Linked DNA regions of Homo sapiens: regions 2 and 3 are each linked to region 1. Evidence: promoter capture Hi-C in human tissues and cell types (Jung and others, 2019). All regions are on one chromosome and are shown on one strand. Each heading gives the region's core, a stretch centred on a gene start or on the middle of the fragment in contact. The rest is flanking DNA. Distances are from core to core; before and after follow the strand shown.

Evidence for each region. The method cuts DNA at HindIII sites, captures the fragments that hold promoters and counts their contacts. A contact is called where the count stands out against the background at its distance.
Region 2: a fragment that was not itself captured here is called in contact with the fragment with the promoter of NIT2 in region 1 in 2 of the 25 tissues and cell types used here (IMR-90 fibroblasts and aorta).
Region 3: a fragment that was not itself captured here is called in contact with the fragment with the promoter of NIT2 in region 1 in 2 of the 25 tissues and cell types used here (lymphoblastoid cells and thymus).

What each region holds. Positions count from the first base shown.
Region 1 is chr3:100,332,331-100,336,006 of GRCh38, forward strand. NIT2 (nitrilase family member 2) reads left to right here and starts at 2,427. Exons shown (of 10, transcript NM_020202.5): 1 at 2,427-2,468. The coding sequence starts at 2,462. RefSeq lists enhancers at 2,195-2,763, 2,857-2,906, 2,927-2,986, 3,107-3,186 and silencers at 2,427-2,756, 3,155-3,449. The HindIII fragment of the contact is 4,697 bases long and covers 1-3,676 here.
Region 2 is chr3:99,899,335-99,903,010 of GRCh38, forward strand. The region is part of intron 1 of CMSS1 (cms1 ribosomal small subunit homolog); the gene reads left to right. All of the region lies in intron 4 of FILIP1L (filamin A interacting protein 1 like), which reads right to left. The region is part of intron 1 of LOC105374010 (a long non-coding RNA gene); the gene reads left to right. Among named protein-coding and RNA genes, the nearest start is that of MIR3921, 63 kb to the right of the region's middle. The HindIII fragment of the contact is 3,066 bases long and covers 8-3,073 here.
Region 3 is chr3:100,074,415-100,078,090 of GRCh38, forward strand. All of the region lies in intron 1 of CMSS1 (cms1 ribosomal small subunit homolog), which reads left to right. All of the region lies in intron 1 of FILIP1L (filamin A interacting protein 1 like), which reads right to left. Among named protein-coding and RNA genes, the nearest start is that of FILIP1L, 38 kb to the right of the region's middle. RefSeq lists an enhancer at 1-133. The HindIII fragment of the contact is 3,831 bases long and covers 1-3,617 here.

The DNA of each region.
Region 1 (3,676 bases), core at 1,177-3,676:
TCTAGGAACACCCCTAGTGCCCAAGTCAGCAGTTTCCCTGCATGTGACAGAGGGACACAGTACCCATAGGCTTTTGGTCTTGATGGCCTTCTCCTGGTCCTGCTTCTCTCTCTCTCTTTTTTTTTTTAATGGAGTCTGGCTCTGTCACCCAGGCTGGTGTGCAGTGGCACAATCTCGGCTCACCGCAACATTCGCCTCCCAGGTTCAAGTGATTCTGCTGTCTCAGCCTCCTGAGTAGCTGGGATTACAGGTGTGTGCCACCACGCCCAGCTAATTTTTGCATTTTTAGTAGAGACGGGGTTTCACCATGCTGGTCAGGCTGGTCTCGAGCTCCTGACCTCTTGATCCACCTGCCTCCACCTCCTGAAGTGCTGGGATTATGTTAATTATTAAATCTAGGAGGAGGACACAGCTGTTCCTCCACCAGGCAGTGGCGCCCGGCCTGGTCCTTCTCCTCTAATGGCTCCTTCCCAGGCTCCACAGGCCCTTCTTCTTTTGCGTGTGCCTTTCATACTCCGCTTGTGTGTTCTCATCCAAATTCAGAGCTTCCTCTTAGTTAAAACTGCTGGTGACTCCCAAGTCAATTTCCAGCCCAGACATCTTCTGAGCTTGAGGCTTTGGTCCGGTTGCCTACTGGGCATCTCCACCTGGATGCCATGGCTCATGCCTATAAGGCCAGCACTTTTTGAAGCCAAAGTGGGAGGATCACTTGAGCCTAGGAGTTTGAGACCAGCCTGGGCAACACTGTAAGAATCCACTTCTAAAAAAATGAAATAATTTGCATTTTGAACAAGCACTTCAAATAACATTTCCAGCCAGGTTTAGGACCACTATTAGTTACAATGTTAGTCCAATAAATTTGGAAATCTAGATGAATTTTTTTAACAGGTTGTAAGTGACCACAGGTTGACCCTGAAACCTCATAGGTTAATAAGCATAGCAGAAATGAAAAGGTTTTTAAAGATCTTCCTGCTACAAAGCCAAGTCCAGATAGTCTCTTAAGCTGCAGAAAGACCATAACTGCTATGTATTTCCCCCCAATTTTTTTTTATGAAAGCTTAAAATTTTAAACTTCTACAAAGTTTTAATCTAGTACCATGAACAGCTGTGTCCTCCTCCTAGATTTAATAATTAACATTTTGCCATATTTGCTTTATCTTATGTGTTTTCTTTTTGCTGACGATTTTCAAGTCAAACATTCTGATGGTTCATCCCTAATACTTCCTCATTTTCTAAGAGTAAAGAATTGTCACAAGCACAACACTATAGCACACAAAATAATTCAGAAAAGCATCAAATATCTCGTTCATATTTAAATCTCCCTAGTTGCCCCCAAAATGTTTTTATAGTGTTCTTTTACAAACCAAGATCTGTTTCAGTATAAACTATTCTGGGGCATTCCAAAAGGTGGTTAAGTTTTGGATTTTTGTTCCACAAGTCTGACAAGGCACAAAAACACAAAACACGAAAATTAAAAAGCAATCTAATAAATAAAAATGCAAAAATCATAGTCTATAGGCTGGGCGCAGCAGCTCACGCCTATAATTCCAGCACTTTGGGAGGCTAAGGCAGTAGGGTCTTGAGCTCAGGAGTTTGAGACCAGCCTGGGCAAAATAGCAAGGCCCCACCTCTATTAAAAGTAAAAAACTTAAAAAAAAAAAAAAAAGAAAGAAAGAAAGAAAAAGAAAAAAGGAAAAGAAATAGCTAGGTGTGGTGGTGTGTGCCTGTAGTCCCAGCTACTTGGGAGGCTGAGGACGGAGGATCGCTTGAGCCGGGAGGTTGAGGCTGCAATGGGCTGAGACTGCTGCACTGCACTCCTGACTGGATGACAGAGTGAGACCCTGTCTAAAACAAACAAACAAAAAAGGATATTAGCAAAGAGATGACAATGTATTCGAGGACTGACTTGTTGAGGGCATGGCGTTGAACCCTCAGCATCTTTCCCGTTGGCCTAGCAGCCTTGTAGTCAGATTTTACAGACGTCTCGCGTGCCTAAACCAACCAGGGTCATTCCGTCCCCGTCACAGAGACTTGTTCAAATAGCTCAAGCCCATCAGCATACGGTGTTAACCTGGCCACAGAGGTGATTCAACCAGCTAGAAGTTCAGTCCTTTTGCGGAGAATCAGCAAACGCTACAAATCAGGGCTTTCCTCCCTGAAAAGTCTGGTTGTTAAGACATTCACCAGCACACCACCTCGACTTAGGCCGTTCCCTTTTGCCCTTTGCCTTTCGAGGCATGCTTTTTCCGGACTGTGTTGCAATTAACCATTTCTCGTTGGTCCGTCCTGGTGTTACAGGCGCACTGGAATGAACGCAGACCCTTCTCTCCTCCCGGCCGGGGCCAGGAGGAGGGGTGGGGCGGGGCCTCTGACGCGGTCCCCGCCCCACCGTAGCGACGCCGCGGTCCGCCGGATCTCCAGCGCTCAGTCCGCGCCGCAGGTGGTGCTTGTCTGCAGAGTCATGACCTGTAAGTGGCGCGGCCGCGCGCTGCAGCTCGAGTTCGGGCCGCGGGGGAGGCTTTGGAGCGGCGCCGGCGGTGGCTCGGCCGGCTCAGCCCCTCCGCCCCGCGTCCCCGCCGTGCGCGGCCTTCCCTGAGGCGGGCGTCCGCGTGGGTCCGGGATCGCGTGGCCGGGCGGCCGGGCGCACTCCCGGGATTCCAGGCTTCCGGGGTGGCGGGCGAGGCCCAGAAAGCACCAGGCCACCCGGCCGCGCCGGCACCCGCCGCGTCCTGCTTGACAGAGGCTGATGGACGTGTATTTCTCCACGGTGTGGGCCGCGGTGGTAGGATCCAACTCCCTTGGGTGTTTTCAAGTTGCGTGACCTCCTCCAGCCCCGCCCTGCACAAAGGTGCCCAGGCGGTTCTTCGTCTCCCCACTCACTTTCCAGCTCCAGATTTTGACTTGGATTCTTGCTGTGTCACTTACTTTGTTCAGTGACTTTGTGCAGCTTTCCCCCTGCAAGTCCCCTGTTTCTTTATTTGTAAAATGATGTTAATGATACCTCACACAATGATGTTAATGTGTGAAGGACCTGGCACATTGCTTTAAATGTTATTCCTTTGTTGTTTCCTTCGCTCACAGTATTTTATTCTTTTTTTCCGCCCCTTGGTAAGGTCTTCGTTGTTAGATTATGATGAATATTAGGGCAGCCTTAAAAGTCTTCACTTTACAGATGAGATGGAGTGACGGGCGTCTCCTCCTCAGCATGAGGAACTGCCCAGTGGCGGGGTTTCCCTGCTGCAGCATGTCTGTAGAGTGGGTCATTTGCAGAATGATAGGCAGTCCTAAGCTTAGTTGAGGACCCCGCCCTTGTGGGTGAGATGTGTAGGAGAGGAAGCCATCAGCGTAGCCATGGTGAGCTTTATCTTTCCCACCCTCGGAAGCACAGACATGGCCCGGCACGTGGCTCACGCCTGTAATCCCAACAGTTTGGGAAGCTGAGGCACGAGGATCGCTTGAGTTCACGAGTCAAGAGTTGGAGACCAGCCTGGGCAACATGGCGACACCTTGTCTGTACTAAAAAATACAAAATTAGCCCGGTGTGGTGGCACGCCCCTTTAGTCCCAAACTACTTGGGAAGCTGAGGAGGGAGAATGGCTTAACGCTGGGAAATGGAGGGGAGACGTTTAGTGGATTTATCTGCTGTTCTGATAACAGCTCAAAATATCTGTTTGCC
Region 2 (3,676 bases), core at 291-2,790, 430 kb before region 1:
TCTTATTATGATGCATTCCTTTAGCCTTAATGAGCATAACTAATGCACTAGAGTTAAAAATGGAAATCTCATATTTTAAGATCATATTGGAAATTATTCTACCTAAATCTTTTTACAAAGTTTTCCATGAATTATATTAATGACACAACTAAACAAGTTATTGTATATAAAGGATTTAGTTTTTTTGTGAGATCTAAATGGTAGCTGTTGTGATTGCTGTTGTTGCTTTTTTCTAGCAGTTTCCTAACCCCTATTGCATTCTTCAGCAAACTATTTCTAGGACAAAGTACTAGGAATCTGACATAAAGTACACTGTTCCTGAAATTGTTATGATAGATGCTTTGGACTCCCACCTCCTTGATTGTGATTCCATTATGGTCCACCTTCAGGGCATCTTTTCTTAATGCACATTAACTCCCAGGGTGATGAACCAGACTCCCTGGGTTTGCATGTTGAATTGCATAACTTCTCTGTGCCACCGTTTTCTCATCTGTAAAATGGGAATGGTGAGAGTACCTTCCTCATAGGGTTGTTATATTTAAATGAGTTACAAACTTTAAGTGCTTAGAGTAGGGCTTAACTAGTTAGCTGTTACTAGTACATTCCTAAGGTGCTAAATACGGTGTTCTGGTTCTACTGGATCTTTGAAATCGTATAATTCTGAGGTCAGAACCAACTTGTCAGGACTTTAGGATGAAATAAATATAAATGTATGTGAAAGCGATTTGAAAAGTTAGTATGTAATACATATCTAGAACAGTGTTTCACACATAGCAGGTATTCAGTAAATATGTATTGGATGAATTAATTTAAAAATTAAAAATATTATATATAATGGTGATATCATTAGTAAAATTTATGACTACAGGATGGAAGTCAAAACCACTCAACCTCCTTGAGTTTGAGACAGAATATTCAACTCATCTACATTGATGAGGTGCAAAAAACAAAGATGGTGATGATGAGGATATTAATAACAACTAACACATACCTGGTGCTTCTTGTATGTTAAACACTATTTTTAACCCTTTATATTGATATAAATTAATTCATTTAATCTTTACAGCAGCCCTATAAGGGTTATCCCCATTGAATAGATGAAGAAACTGAGTCTCTAAGAGGTCATAAATAACCAGATTTCAGATGAGATAGAGTGCGTTCAGGGTGGTATGGCCATAGACAAGATTTCAAACCAAGGAAGTTTGGCCCCAAATGCCATACCTTTAGCCCTATGTTATAACTAAGGTGTAATTTCATAAAAGTTATTTGTTCCAACCATTTCTTCACACACTTAATATTCATCAGAACTTCCATAAAGTACCAAATGGGCTGATCATTGTGTAATCTTCCCTCTTTCTTCTTTTCCACGCAAGTCTTAAGTGCTGATACTCAAACTGAGCTGCACGTTGGAACTACCTGGTGTGAGCTTTTAGCACAGTTGCTGTTTCAGCCTCAGAGATTCTGACCTAATTGATGTGCCCCGGTTATCAGGTTTTTTAAAAGCTTCTCTGGTGATTCTTACATGTAGCAAAGTGTTAGAAGCACTGATCTAAAGGAAAATGAAATTGGCCTAGGCCCTAGAGTATGCCTGAGGGGAAGGGGCATGATGGTAGTAGGATCTGGACCCTGGAGAATCCAGGAGTTGAAACTCAAGCCAGTTTGCTTTGCTTCTTATTGATAATTATGAAGGCAGGCAGGGAATACTGGGTGGAAATACTGGATAACATTTGGTGTGGAATTTACCAAAGGATTAAACTGTATACAACATTCTTTTAACTTGTTATTTAATACAAATCAAGTAAGCTTTAGTATTGCTTTAAGGATTGGGTCTTAGATGGTCATTACAAATCTTCAGGAAAGTGTTGTTTAGAAAAACAAAATGGCTACACGTTGAAATAGGATAGTACCTTCCTTTAGAGATGCCAACTTAATTGCTCCAATGAGAAGAGTAGTCTCCCTTTACTAAACTGTTTAGGAAAATTGATATTTATTTCTAATGTTTATGGTTTGTTGTCTCAGAAGATTAATGCCAAATCCTCAAAAATGTAGTGACAAGCGATGACTCATTTTAGCTCATGTCAAAACAATGCACTTTTGTAATTTTCCTGTCCCTGGAGAAGCTATTAAACACTGAACAAAATGCCTCAGAATGAAACTGATTGAGTGTTTCAAATTATGTACTTTTGCTTGGCTATTAGCCAGATGTTCGTCGGGAAAGCTCACTGTACATCAAGGCCTATGATTTGTGCTGACAATAATATTACATAGTTTACACTGCTTAAATATCAGCGATGTGTATTCTAAAGCTAAATAGTCAAAGTTCAGTCTCTTTGCATAATCAAGTTGTGTAACTCTACTCTCAGCCAAGTGATTTTTCCTTTATTAACTCTGGACGGGATGTAAGTAATGGGTAAGGTATTTTTCTCTGCATTATCTTGTTGATAAATAGCACAGATTCCAGCTAGGTTAGGAAGAGTCTCAACACACACACATACACACACATTTTTAAGATTTATACATTTGATTTTTTTGTGAGTGGTACCACCTGCCTTGTCCCTAGTAGAGCTCAGCATAATGTTTTTTGTGTAGTAGGTACACAAAATATGTGTTGCTGATAATGATGCCAATAAACAAAACAAAACACAGAGTGTTTTTTTCATTAATTTCCTATAATCTGCCAGTAATATATGAGGTCTTACAAGAATCAGTGTTAAGCCAACTATGTTTTATTTTTTAGAGACAAAATATTTAAATGATTGGCTTGCTTTCACTGACCTCCTAAGTAATAGAAATATTCATGATGTTATATTAGACATTTGTGGAGGACAATAAAATTAGTGTAACTGACTCTTAGTATTCGAGACATTCTTAGTACCATGTGACATTTTTTTGAGTAGGAATTTGGGGGCATGGTCTCTTGACAACCAAAAGTATGAGGTTACTCATAACAGTTTCTATTACACCCAGCACCTGGGAAAGAGTCAGTGCTGAATAGATATCTGTTGAATTGAACTGAATTGAACAGATATTCAACTCATTCTCATTTGCTCATGTTTTACAAGAAGCAGTTTCTCAGATGCATTTCCATGGGAGGACATGAAAAAAGGTAGTGAAAATGAAATACCTTCTGATTCTATGGCATGGTAATAGGAAGTTATCTTGATATATAAGGGTATCTAGCTGTCAGCTCATTCTGAGGAAATGGTGTGAAGGGTAGTAATTCAAACTATATCTGAAAACTATAGTTTTGATCCAGGGAAGAAACCTTGGATTATAGTCCATTGTTACCAGTAGACACTGGACAACCAAAAAGATTAACAAGTCAACAAAATGCTTGTCAGGAAGAGATTCACACTAAATCAATAGTGTGATCTTATTTTTTATTAAAAATCAGGCATATCCATGTTATGCTTTCTACTATTCTAGTTGCCTGTCATGGAAAAGGTTTAACAGAATTTGGAGGTTACACAGACAGAATGGTAATGGGGTAACTTCCATGTGAAGATAGTCTGAAATTTAGATGATAAATTGATAGATTAAAGAGGAAAAAAATCTATGAAAGTGATTTATTTAAAGCAACTAAAATCTATAAAATCATAAGCAGTGTGGCAGGACAAATACTCCTGTTCACCTAAACCTAGAACTGTTAGAATCTGAGGTTTCATGATTAAGGATA
Region 3 (3,676 bases), core at 452-2,951, 260 kb before region 1:
CAGAGGCCTTTTCTACTCTAAAATGTAACTTGAATACCCATCTTTCTGCTACATTTTTCTCTGTGGATCTCTTATCATGTTCCAGAAATCATTTTGCAAATTTATTCTATAGCCAGTATGTTTGGCAAAATTATAATAAAATAAGCTTTCTTATTTATCTAAAAACTAGTAAAAACTATGCTTGAGAAATACATCTTTCTGTTGAAGTTTGGTTCCCAATGTTTCTTTTAATCTTATTTTCTATGCATGTGCAACATTTGATTTTTTTTTTTTTTTTTTTTTTTTTTTTTTTTTTTTGAGACGAAGTCTCACTCTGTTGTCCAGGCTAGAGTACAATGGCACGATCTTGGCTCACTGCAACCTCTGCCTACTGGGTTCAAGCGATTCTCTTACCTCAGCTTCCAGAGTAGCTTGGATTACAGGTGCGCACCACCACTCCTGGCTAATTTTTGTCTTTTTAATAGAGACAGGGTTTCGCCGTGTTGGCCAGGCTGGTCTCGAACTCCTGACCTCAAGTGATCCACCAGCCTTATCCTCCCAAAGTGCTGGGATTACAGGCATGAGCCAACATGCCCGGCCTGATTTTCTTTTATAATAATGATTTTTTATAAACCTTTGTTTGTATAAAGCTATTTTAATTGCTTATATTTTTTTAGGATATATTTTATTGGTCTATGTTAGTTCCCTTTGTTTTGGTTTATCCTGGGGTCAAACCCAGATTCTCCCTACAAGGATTACATTAGATAGAGATCGTCAAAACCAGAAATGATCAACCTGAAACACTTCCTGGTCAGCTTTTGCTAAAAGAAGATATATCAATGCAATATGATTACCTTTCAAATAATGGACTTCTAATGACACAAGAGAACAATCTAGAGCATGCTAGTTGCTGCCACAGAAATGGATACAGAGACAACCCACAGTCTGGTTCTCATCCTCGTGTCCTTTACCCTACAGGAGAGAAGGGCTTATGATAACGAGCAGAGATTCCACTTTTATTTTAGGAAGCTTAGAGGTTAGGAAGACCATAATTTGTTCTTTAAACATCTCTTGCATTTTTATAAGTTCTCTTACCTTCAAAGCTTTATTCGAAGCTTCGGGTTTTTGCTTTTTACTTCATATCCCAATCTTTGTCTTCTCTTTTCTTTTTCTTTTTTTTTTTTTAACTGTCTCCTATACCCACTGATGGCAGACTCTGTTTTCTTTTATCTTCTTTTCCTTATTACACAAGAATTAAATGAAGCAACATCTATAATATAAATTCTCGGAAAAATTACACAACATGGTAATAACTAATTATAAAGGCAATTTATAGATTTGGGGAGAATTTCATCCCACAGTGATAGTAACATCGTTGGACCTGAAACCAGGACCTATTGATGACTGACCTGGGGCAATTTATCTCTGAGCTTGACTTTTCTTATCTATAAACTTATCTTAAACTCTACAAGCTTCTTGAGCTAATCCTTCTGGGGTATTAGGATTCGATTCAGGAGAGCTGAGTTGGAGCCTAGAAATCTTCATTTCTGATAAGCTCTCCAGGCAATAGGCCCTCAGACCTCACTTTGAAGACACAAAACTATGTAATTTCTAAGATCATTTCCTGCCTAAAATTCTGTGATTCTGAGTCTTCTTTCAACTACATGGCTTTGGGCAGGGCTGATGCTTCCTGGAAACTCACTGTTTCATCTGCCATATGTATAATTAAGAAATATATTTGTTAGTTATCTTGCCCGGAAAACCCTTAAAAATGTAAACAATAATTTTGATCAGAGTTAAGTACCTCTTTTTGTCACTGCTCAGTGGAGGCTTGTCTGTTTCATTCCTTTAATCTCTCATCATATGCTTATCTCTGTAAATATATTTTTCCCTCTCTAAAGGCCTCTCAGATGCTTTTCATCTTTCTGAAAGAATGTTTAAAGCCAAAGTCCAGGTGCTTACACTTTTGGACTTAATAACTGAGCTGTTTTTACTCACCACCCGCCCAACACCCTTCTTTTTCTTTTATCATTGTCAGCATGTGCTGAGCCCCTCTGATGGACAGCTTCACATCTACTTTATGCTTTGCTATTTCTGTTATATTGCAAAATCCTATCTAATCTGTGGGTTACAGTATCTATCTGGTTGCTTTTGACATGCTTTCGAGGTTTCATCCCCACTGAATGTCAGTCTTCTGAGTTATTTTTTCCTGGATACTTGTACTTAATTGTATTTTGCCAGACTGAACTCACTGTGTACTTTACTGTTCATTTTTCTGATCTCCAGGGATCCATGAATATTGTTTGACTTCACCTCTGTTTCTTCTACCATCTCCACCTTTAGTGCCATGTGAGGAACTTATTAATGTAACGTCTTCTCAGATTTCCAGGTCATTAATAAAGTTGTTTAATAAGATCTTTTGTGCAGCCTGGGAATTAGTCAGACTTACTCAGTATTTACAGCTCTGCTATCATTTCTTGCCCACTATTATGTCCTGTGTAGTTAAGGATGCAATAGAGACAAAAATTACTTTTCAAATTACAGTTCCTGCAAGAGATGTCTCTTCCCAGAAGACCCTTTACTGTTCCACATAAGAAATCAAAACTCTCATTTAATTAGAGAGGGCTTTCGGAACAAGGCTGGCCAGGGTACGCTTACATAAGCTTGTTTGCAGATTCCGGTTAGGTCTCCCAAGGTCACAGACAGCTGTGTTTTGCATTTAGCGTCCTTTGAAAGAAGAGTGGATGCTTGGATAGCTTGTACTTGACATGCAAAGAACTTAGGAACTGCATACTTTCACATGTTGCTCGTAGGTTCCAAGCAAATGGGAACACACCATCATGCAGAAACTCTCTATCTGCCGTTATCCTGTGAGCTCCCAATCAGTGATGCATGGTGTTCTTAAGAAGTAGACTCAGGCAACAGCCAAAGTCATTTCTTTCTCTTACAATCTGAGAAGCAAGTATGTTTGTACTTCACTGAGAGTGTTTCAGGACAGCAACCAGTTTAAAAATAAGAGTAGTTAAACAAAAAAGGTGGTTAGCTATTAAGCCATGGCTGGATTTTATAGCACAAAAAGTTAATGCAAGGCAGTGTGTATTTAAGATAAGGAGGATTTAAGGAAATGGAGAGGGGAGAAGAGTAACATTCCAGGTAGAGGAATTGCAAGATAGCCTTCATCCCCACAAGAATTAACATAGTAAAACAGTACAGAATGAGATAAATTCAGTAAAAATAATAAGGAATTGGCTTTGCCCAGTGGCTCACACCTATAATCACAGTGAGGTGGGACAATGAATTGAGCCTAGTAGTTCAAGACCAGCCTGGGCAACATGGCAAGACCCTGTCTCTACAAGAAATAAAAAAATTAGCCAAGCATGGCTGTGCATGTCTGTGGTCCCGCTACTGGGAGGCTGAGACAGGAGGATCACTTGAGCCCAGGAGGTAGAGGCTATAGTAAGCTGTGTTCGCATCACTACACTCCAACCTGGGTGACAGAATAAGACCCTGTCTCAAAAAAAATAAGAATAATAAGGAATTATTAAAATAGAAATTTAGGACACCCAGTTTCACTTACTCAGACTCTAAAATGGAATGTCAGTCGTTTAACAGCCAGCTAAAACATTATTAATTGTACTAACAATATTGAGTTATCCTATTTATAAGTTAGAATTGGGCTTGCTTTAAAAAAAAAAAA